3 separate regions of the Homo sapiens genome follow, and all the other regions are linked to region 2. The links are contacts of gene promoters, found by promoter capture Hi-C in human tissues and cell types (Jung and others, 2019). All regions are on one chromosome and are shown on one strand. The core of a region is centred on a gene start or on the middle of the fragment in contact, and the rest is flanking DNA. Distances in the headings are between cores, read along the strand shown. Region 1 overlaps USP42 (ubiquitin specific peptidase 42). Region 2 holds the start of OCM (oncomodulin). Region 3 overlaps USP42 (ubiquitin specific peptidase 42).

The links. Contacts are between HindIII fragments. The study calls those that stand out against the background at their distance.
Region 1: a contact is called between a fragment that was not itself captured here and the fragment with the promoter of OCM in region 2, in 1 of the 25 tissues and cell types used here (dorsolateral prefrontal cortex).
Region 3: a fragment that was not itself captured here is called in contact with the fragment with the promoter of OCM in region 2 in 1 of the 25 tissues and cell types used here (stomach).

Annotation. Positions count from the first base shown.
Region 1 is chr7:6,115,742-6,118,441 of GRCh38, forward strand. The region is part of intron 3 of USP42 (ubiquitin specific peptidase 42); the gene reads left to right. Among named protein-coding and RNA genes, the nearest start is that of USP42, 12 kb to the left of the region's middle. The HindIII fragment of the contact is 7,776 bases long and covers 1-2,700 here.
Region 2 is chr7:5,879,548-5,882,247 of GRCh38, forward strand. It overlaps OCM (oncomodulin), which reads left to right and starts at 1,251. Exons shown (of 4, transcript NM_001097622.2): 1 at 1,251-1,403. The coding sequence starts at 1,343. The HindIII fragment of the contact is 18,194 bases long and covers 1-2,700 here.
Region 3 is chr7:6,135,503-6,138,202 of GRCh38, forward strand. USP42 (ubiquitin specific peptidase 42) reads left to right here. Exons shown (of 18, transcript NM_032172.3): 4 at 339-449. Among named protein-coding and RNA genes, the nearest start is that of USP42, 32 kb to the left of the region's middle. The HindIII fragment of the contact is 7,739 bases long and covers 1-2,700 here.

The sequences.
Region 1 (2,700 bases), core at 117-2,616, 240 kb after region 2:
CATTTTATCAGCTTTTGGCATTTCTGAACTCCTTGTTGGTTTTCTACACTTACTAAAAAAATGTGACAGAAATATCTGACATTAGCTGGGCTCACACCTGTAATCCCAGCACTTTGAGAGACCGAGGAGAAAGGATCACTCGAGCCCAAGAGTTGGAGACCAACCTGGACAACATAGTAAGACCCCATCTCTACTAAAAATAAAAATAAAAATTAGTCTAGCATGGCAGCACACACCTCTAGTCCCAGCATACTCAGGAGGGTGAGACAGGAAGGTCACCTGAGTCTGGAAGGTTGAGACTGCAGTGAGCTGTGATCGCACTGCTGTACTTCAGCCTAGACAACAGAAAGAGACCCTGTCTCAAAAAAAAAAAAAAAAAACGTCTGATGCCAGCAACTTGGGACAGGCGAGGTTAAGAAATCCTGCCTCTCCTGGCATTTATATCATGTTGGAAGGCTCAATCATTTACATGCTTATAAGCCTTAGAGGAGAGGGACTCTCTTGTCACTGCCCGCAACCTCCTGGAATTCAGACTAGACTTTCCCTTTAGCATTTGAGAACTTCATCTTCAACCTACATGGCAGGAAATCAGTTAAAGCTTATTAAAATGTCTTTAATTAGATGGAAGCCAACTCAGTGGTTGACTATCAACCTTCAGAATTTGGAACATCCGTTTTTGAGGTTTTGGCCTTCTCCATATGTTGTAAATATCCTTCATTCTTTATAAATGCAGTCTCCCTGTTCTTTGATCTAAATTAATGGCTCAGATTCATGTGTGTATGTTCTGGGGCTATTAGTTACTAGGATTTAAAAAAAAAAATCCTTGGTTTCTTTTTGAATAGTTCTTTACTTAATGGAGAATTTAAATTGGTTCTTTTAAAACTGATTTTTTTTTCCCTCCAAAGAGCCAAGTAATGCTTGTAAAGAATTTGGAAAGTACAGAAAAACTTAAAGAAACCAAAGAAAAATCACCTAGAATCTCACCACCTACCTAGGGGTGTTTGTTATGCCAGAATTAACGTTCTGTTTGCCCTCATTTTCTCCCTTTCTCAGTCCATAATTCATTCCCCACAGACAGCTTTCCTATCACTTTTGCGCTTAATGAAAGTAGGGTGTGGATGAAAACCCAGCACTAGCACCTGGACAGCAAGAGAGAGGACCAAGACAAAATTCAGAAGCTCCCGATGTCCAGAATTAGGTGCCTATCTTTTATGCTACTGGTAGTTTTTGTGCTTGCTTCCTCCCTCCCTCCCTTCCTCCCTCTCTTTCTCTCTCTCTTTTCCCAGCTTTACTGAAGTATAATTGATATATACCAAATTACACATATTTAAAATACATAATTTGATGCATTTTGACATTTGTATACACCCGTGGAACTAGCATCAAGATTAAGATAATGAACATGTTCATCACCCTCAAAAGTTCCCCGATGCCCCTTTGAAATCACCCTTTCCATCCTTTCCCCACCCTCCTGCCCGGCAACCACTGATCTGCTTTCCGTCACTATAGATGAATTAGTTTAGATTTTCTAGAGTGTTGCTTATGTGGAATTGTACAGTATATATTCTCATATTATCTCGCTTCTTTCACTCAGCATAATCCTGTCAACATTATTCCATTTGTGCCATGTAGCATCACTTGATCGTATTGTTGAGTAGGATTCCATTTTATGGCTAGATCACAATTTGTTTCTCCATTTGTCTATTGATGGGCATCTGGGTCATTTTTCACTTTGTGCCGTTACAAATTAAGCTGCTATGAACATTAGCAAACAAGCCTTTGTTAGGACATGTTTTCATTTCTCTTAGGTAAATATCTAGGAGTAAAATGGCTTGGTCCTGGGGTGGGTGTGTACTTTAACATTTTAAGAGACTTCCAGACTTTCCAGAAGGGATTGCAGTGTTTTATAGTCCCACCACTGGTGAATGAATCTTCCATTTGCTCCACATCCTTCCCAATACTTGGTGGGGTCAGTCTTCTTCAGTTTTAGCCATCTCCATAGGTGTGTAGTGTGGTAGTATTTTGTTGTGGTTTTAATTTGTACTTTCATAATGAATAATGCTGAACCTCTTTTCTTTTTTGTTTTGTTTTTGTTTTGAACATCTTTTCATGTGGTTATTTGCCATCCGTATATTTCCTTTGCTAAAATGCCTGTTGAAATCTTTTGCCCGTTTGAAAACTGGTAGTTTTCTTATTGTTGAGCTTAGAGAGTTCTTTATATATCCTCGATATAAGTCTTTTATTATGTAGGCTGGGATTTGTCTTTTGATTCTTTTCAGTGTCTTTTAAAGAGTGCATTTTTTGTTTTGGGAAATTTCATTTCTTTTTTTTTCTTTTTATTCGTTGTGCTGTAGGTGTTTTAAGAAATCTTGGCTGGGTATGTGGCTCATGCCTGTAATCCCAGCACTTTGGGAGAACGAGGCAGGTAGATCACTTGAGCCCAGGATTTCAAGACTAGCCTGGGCAACGTAGGGAGAACTCATCTCTATATATAAAAAAAATCAAAAATTAGGCCAGGTGTGGTGGTTCATGTGTTTTGGGAGGCTGAGGCGGGTGGCTCACTTGAGTTCAGTAGTTTGAGACCAGTTTGGGCAACATGGTGAAACCCTGTCTCTATAAAAAATACAAAAATTATCTGGGCTTGGCGGTGTGCGCCTATAGTCCCAGCTACTTGGGAGACTGAGGTGGGAGGATCACATG
Region 2 (2,700 bases), core at 1-2,500:
TTCAGCTTACAGAGCACCCTGTATGTGTTTGTCTTAGTTCAGGCCACCATCTCCACCTTACCAGGCATCTAGAACCTTCTCCACACTTTGCCAACAGGGTTCGTTTGCAGAATTGAAATCTTAGTTAAGGTTTGTTGAAGTTTGTTGTTGTTTTTTTTTTTTTTTTACAATTGGCTGTTCCCACCCACATTCCCTTGAGACATAAATAGAAAAAAAAAAAAAAAGAGGTTTCATGAGTAAGACAAGACATTTGAGCTGCATCCACTTGATCCTTGAAAAGGAAATCTAAGAGGTTGTAACTATCACTTTTTCTAGCCTATATAAGGTAGGTCAGTAAGGTAGCAAAAACACATCTGTTGTTTTGCTCCTTCAACTCTTTTTCCTGATTCTTCCTGGGGGGAAACCGAAAACGGTGAGTAACTGGTGGACACATCAGACCCCAGACTCTTTTCTTCACTGCATGCATTCATATTAGGCTCAGGTGCTTAGACTCCTGTTTTCCGGTGGCTCTGACACCTGGAAGGATTTTAATCTCTGGGAGATGGGCTTTTCATCCATCTGCTTCCCACCTTTCAGGACAGGTGCATGCCTTCTTCCACAGAATGTCTGCAAGCAGCCCAAACTGTATCCTTTCCCACGTGGAATTTGCAACATTGCATCTCTCGGGCTGCTGTAGGAAAATGCCAGTGCATGTGTAACATGGTTTACGGCTGCCTATGCAAATGACTGATTATGTCAGTATAATTTTTATAAGAAAACAATTGAATCCTTCTTTGGGTCATTTTTTTTTTCCATTTTTGGCATGTATTCAAAAGAAGGCTCTGAGACAAAAAAGGCTGGGGTGTTTTCCGTATCTGGTTTTAATTTGGATATTCTGTCCCGTCACTTAATACAAAACCATGCTTATCACATTTTAAAAATTCTAGACAGGCCTGGCTCGGTGGCTTGCATCTGTCATCCCAGCACTTTGTGAGGCCAAGGCAGGCAGATCACCTGAGGTCAGGAGCTCAAGACCAGCCTGGCCAACATGGCAAAACCCCGTCTCTACTAAAAACACAAAAATTAGCCAGGCATGGTAGTGCGCACCTGTAATCCCAGCTACTGGGAAGGCTTAGGCAGGAGAATCACTTGAGCCCAGGAGGCGGAGGTTGCGGTGAGCCGAGATCACGCTCTTGCACTCCAGCCTGGGTGACAGAGTGAGACTCCGTCTTAATTTAAAAAAAAAAATAATCTAGACACACATACAGTTTCAGTGGGCCTGGGAAGATGTGTTTCCCCTGGATGTGCACATTCCTGTTTGTGGCTTATCGCCTCTCATTTATTCTGTGTGAGTAGGTAGAAAATGAGCATCACGGACGTGCTCAGTGCTGACGACATTGCAGCAGCGCTCCAGGAATGCCGAGGTAGAGGGGACGTGAGGCGGGGGTGGGATTTCCTCACAGCTTTGCACCTCCAGCGAGTCAACACAAAATCAAAATGTAGGCCAGGCGGCCAGACGCAGTGGCTCACACCTGTAATCCCAGCACTTTGGGAGGCCGAGGCGGGTGGATCACGAGGTCAGGAGTTCGAGACCAGCCTGGCCAAGATGGTGAAACCCCATCTCTACTAAAAATACAAAAAAATTAACCGGGCGTGGTGGTGGGTGCCTGTAATCCCAGCTACTCGGGAGGCTGAGGCAGAGAATTGCTTGAACCCGGGAGGCAGAAGTTGCAGTGAGCTGAGATCATGCCACTGCACTCCAGCCTGGGCAACAGAGCAAGACTCTGTCTACAAAAAAAAAAAAAAAAAGTAGACCAGGCATGGTGGCTCACATCTGTAATCCCAACACTTTTTGGAGGCCAAGGTGAGAGGACTGTTTGAGCCCAGGAGTTTGAGACCAGCCTGGGCAACATAGGAAGACTCCATCTCTACAACATAACAATAAAAATAAAAACTAGCGGGGCATGGTGGCATGTGCCTGTGGTCCCAGCTACTCTGGAAACTAAGGTAGGAGGATCACTGAAGCCCAGGAGGTTGAGGCTGTGGTGAGCTATGATCGCTACACTGCACTCCAGCTTGGACGACAGAGTGAGACTCTGGCTCTAAATAAATAAATAAATAAATAAATAAGAGGTTGGCTGGAAAATTCATGGAATCAGAGAAGAAAACTGCTATTTATTAGATAACTAAAATTATAGAGATCTGGGATCTGAGCACACGATTACACATCTGTAAGACAAAAGAAACCTACTAAACATGAAAGCAAGACATCACTGAAAGGCCAGGTGTCGTGCTCACACCTGTAATCCCAACACTTTGGGAGGCCGAGGCCGGTGCATCACTTGAGGTCAGGAGTTCAAGACCAACCTGGCCAGCATGGCAAAACCCTGTCTCTATTAAAAATACAAAAATGAGCTGGGCATGGGGGTGCACACCTGTAATCTCAGCTACTTGGGAGGCTGAAGCAGGAGAATCAGTTGAACCCGGGAGGCAGAGGTTGCAGTGAGCCGAGATCACGCCACTGCACTCCAGCCTGGTGACAGAGTGAGACTCTGTCTCAAAAAAAAAAAAAAAAAAAAAAAAAAAAAAAAAAGCGCCAAAGGCCATTTAGCCTGTTGAAATCCAGTGATTGCATTTCCCCCTACCAATTAGACCAGGGATGCTGGGGGCTCAGCCACACAGCCTGTAAAGTGGGCCAGGGGGAGGGGGAGGCACAGAAGA
Region 3 (2,700 bases), core at 44-2,543, 260 kb after region 2:
TTAGCCAGGCATGGTGGCGCATGTAGTAGTCCCAGCTACTTGGGAGGCTGAGGCAGGCAAATGGCTTGGACCCGGGGAGGCCGAGGTTGCAGTGAGCCAGGGTCACACCACTGCACTCCAGCCTGGGTGACAGAGTGAGACTCCATCTCAAAAAAAAAAAAAAAAAAAAAAAAAAGAACAAAAAAAAGTAAATGAAAATGCATAAAAGTAGATAGCTCAAGGCATGCATATAGCAGCTATTATTTCATTTCAGGTGTGTGCCCCTGATTTGTAATTAGCCTTGATGTGTGTATATGGTTGTATTTTGCTAATTTGGAGGATTATCATCTATCTTTCAGGTCATGCAGAAGGCTTTTGTATGATGTGTACAATGCAAGCACATATTACCCAGGCACTCAGTAATCCTGGGGACGTTATTAAACCAATGTTTGTCATCAATGAGATGCGGCGTAAGTATTAACTATTGTAGTTTTATATTTGTATTTATTACCTAGTTATACTTTTTTTTTTTTTTTTTTTCGAGACAGAGTCTTGCTCTGTCGCCTAGGCTGGAATGTAGTGGCGCTATTTCGGCTCACTGCAGCTTCCACCTCCCAGGTTCAAACGATTGTCCTGTCTCAGCCTCTCGAGTAGCTGAGATCACAGGCGTGTACCACTATGCCAGGCTAATTTTGTACTTTTAGTACAGATGGGGTTTCTCCATGTTGGTCAGGCTGGTCTCAAACTCCTGACCTCAGTTGATCCACCTGCCTCCGCCTCCCAAAGTGCTGGGATTACAGGCGTGAGCCACCATGCCTGGCCTATTACCTAGTTATTCTTAATGTCCAACTGGTGAAAAAAACCGAACCCGTCATGTATTAGAAAACAAATACATTTTGTCGTACGTGGCTATGTCTTTGATAACAAATTTTTAGTAAAACATTTGCTATATAAACACATTTTGAAACTTTAAAGCAAAAGATGACAATATATTAAAGACTATTCAATTTAATATAACAAATTTTAAACTATTAAAAATCAATATGTTAAAATAATTGGTAAGTTTTATAGTGTCTTTGCTCTGAAACTTGGATTTCTATGCTGAGTAATACTAATTCTGATATTGTCTCACAGGTTTTTGTAAACAGTTTTTAATTAGTTTCAGTTTGGTGAATGAATACTTTACTATACGCAGTGACAGAAATTGTCAAAATAAAGTTAATTAGGCTACTCTGGACACACTGCCTGTGGATTAGCCCTGCTCTGCAAGCAGCAGTAAAAATAAAATAAGAAATAAATAAGGTTAATTCTCTTTTTTCGGTTCTTCTTTTTTTTTTTTTTCAAGTGAGACTGTGTCTCACTGTTTTGCCCAGGCTAGTCTTGAACTCCTGGCTCAAGTGATCCTCTTGCCCCAGTTGAGTAGCTGGGATTACAGATGTGCACCACTATGCCCAACTTAATTACAGTCTTAAAAGAATATATACTCAGAGCTTAGCAAATTGGTGGATAAATTTTACTTTTTTCTATTTAATTTTTGAATTTTAAATGGGTAAGTGCATGAAATTTTCTTACATTCTGTGTGTTTTTGCAGTAAACTTTTGCATCTTGTTAATTGAGTTGGAATAAAAAATGCATACAAACAAAACTATAACTCTTAATCTGGCATCTAACTGGGTAATTATAGGGATGTGTAATTATACAGTAACAAACTGTAATCTTTTTGCCTAGAAAGCCACTGAAGATTAAAGAGGTCTTATATTGGCCCTTGGCATTATTGATAGACCACAACAGACAAGCCAAAAACCTTTGAAATATTGTTGAAGCCTGGCAAAATTTAGCCAGGCAGGTTTGGATTGTTTACACATGCATGCATGCATTCATTCATCCATTCATTTGAGATGGAGTCTCGCTCTGTCCCCAAGCCTGGAGTGCAGTGGCACGATCTTGGCTCACTACAACCTCTGCCTCTCAGGTTCAAGTGATTCTTCTGCCTCAGCCTCCCAAGTAGCTGGGATTACAGACGTGTACCACCACACCTGGCTAATTTTGTAGTTTTAGTAGAGACGGGGTTTCACCATGTTGGCCAGGCTGGCCTTGAACTCCTGACCTCAGGTGATCCACCCGTCTTGGCCTCCCAAAGTGCAGAGATTACAGACGTGAGCCACCATGCCTGGCTATTTATACATGTATTTATTTGTTTTTATTCATTTATTTTTGAGATGGAGTCTCACTCTGTCGCCTAGGCTGGAGTGCAGTGGTGCAGTCTTGGCTCACTGCAACCTCCGCCTCTCGGATTCCAGCGATTTCTCCTGCGTCAGCCTCCTGAGTAGCTGGGACTACAGGTGCTTGCCACTACCCCTGGCTAATTTTTGTATTTTTAGTAGAGATGGGGTTTCACCATGTTAGCCAGGATGGCCTCGATATCCTGACCTCATGATCCACCCGCCTCTGCCTCCCAAAGTGTTGGAATTACAGGTGTGAGCCACCACGCCCGACCACATATATTTATTTTTATACATATTTATATAGCAGACATGACTAACATTTTTAAACCTAGTCTTTTAAGAAAATGTCATTGCTCTGTGTGTGTGTGTATCCACTGATACACACATGGTTCAGTCATGAAGTTGTCACGTTTGTAGGTCTAAACTGGTGGAGTGTTGGCAGTTTCATGTGATTTAAGCTAGAACATTTTTATACATTCATACACATGTAAAATTC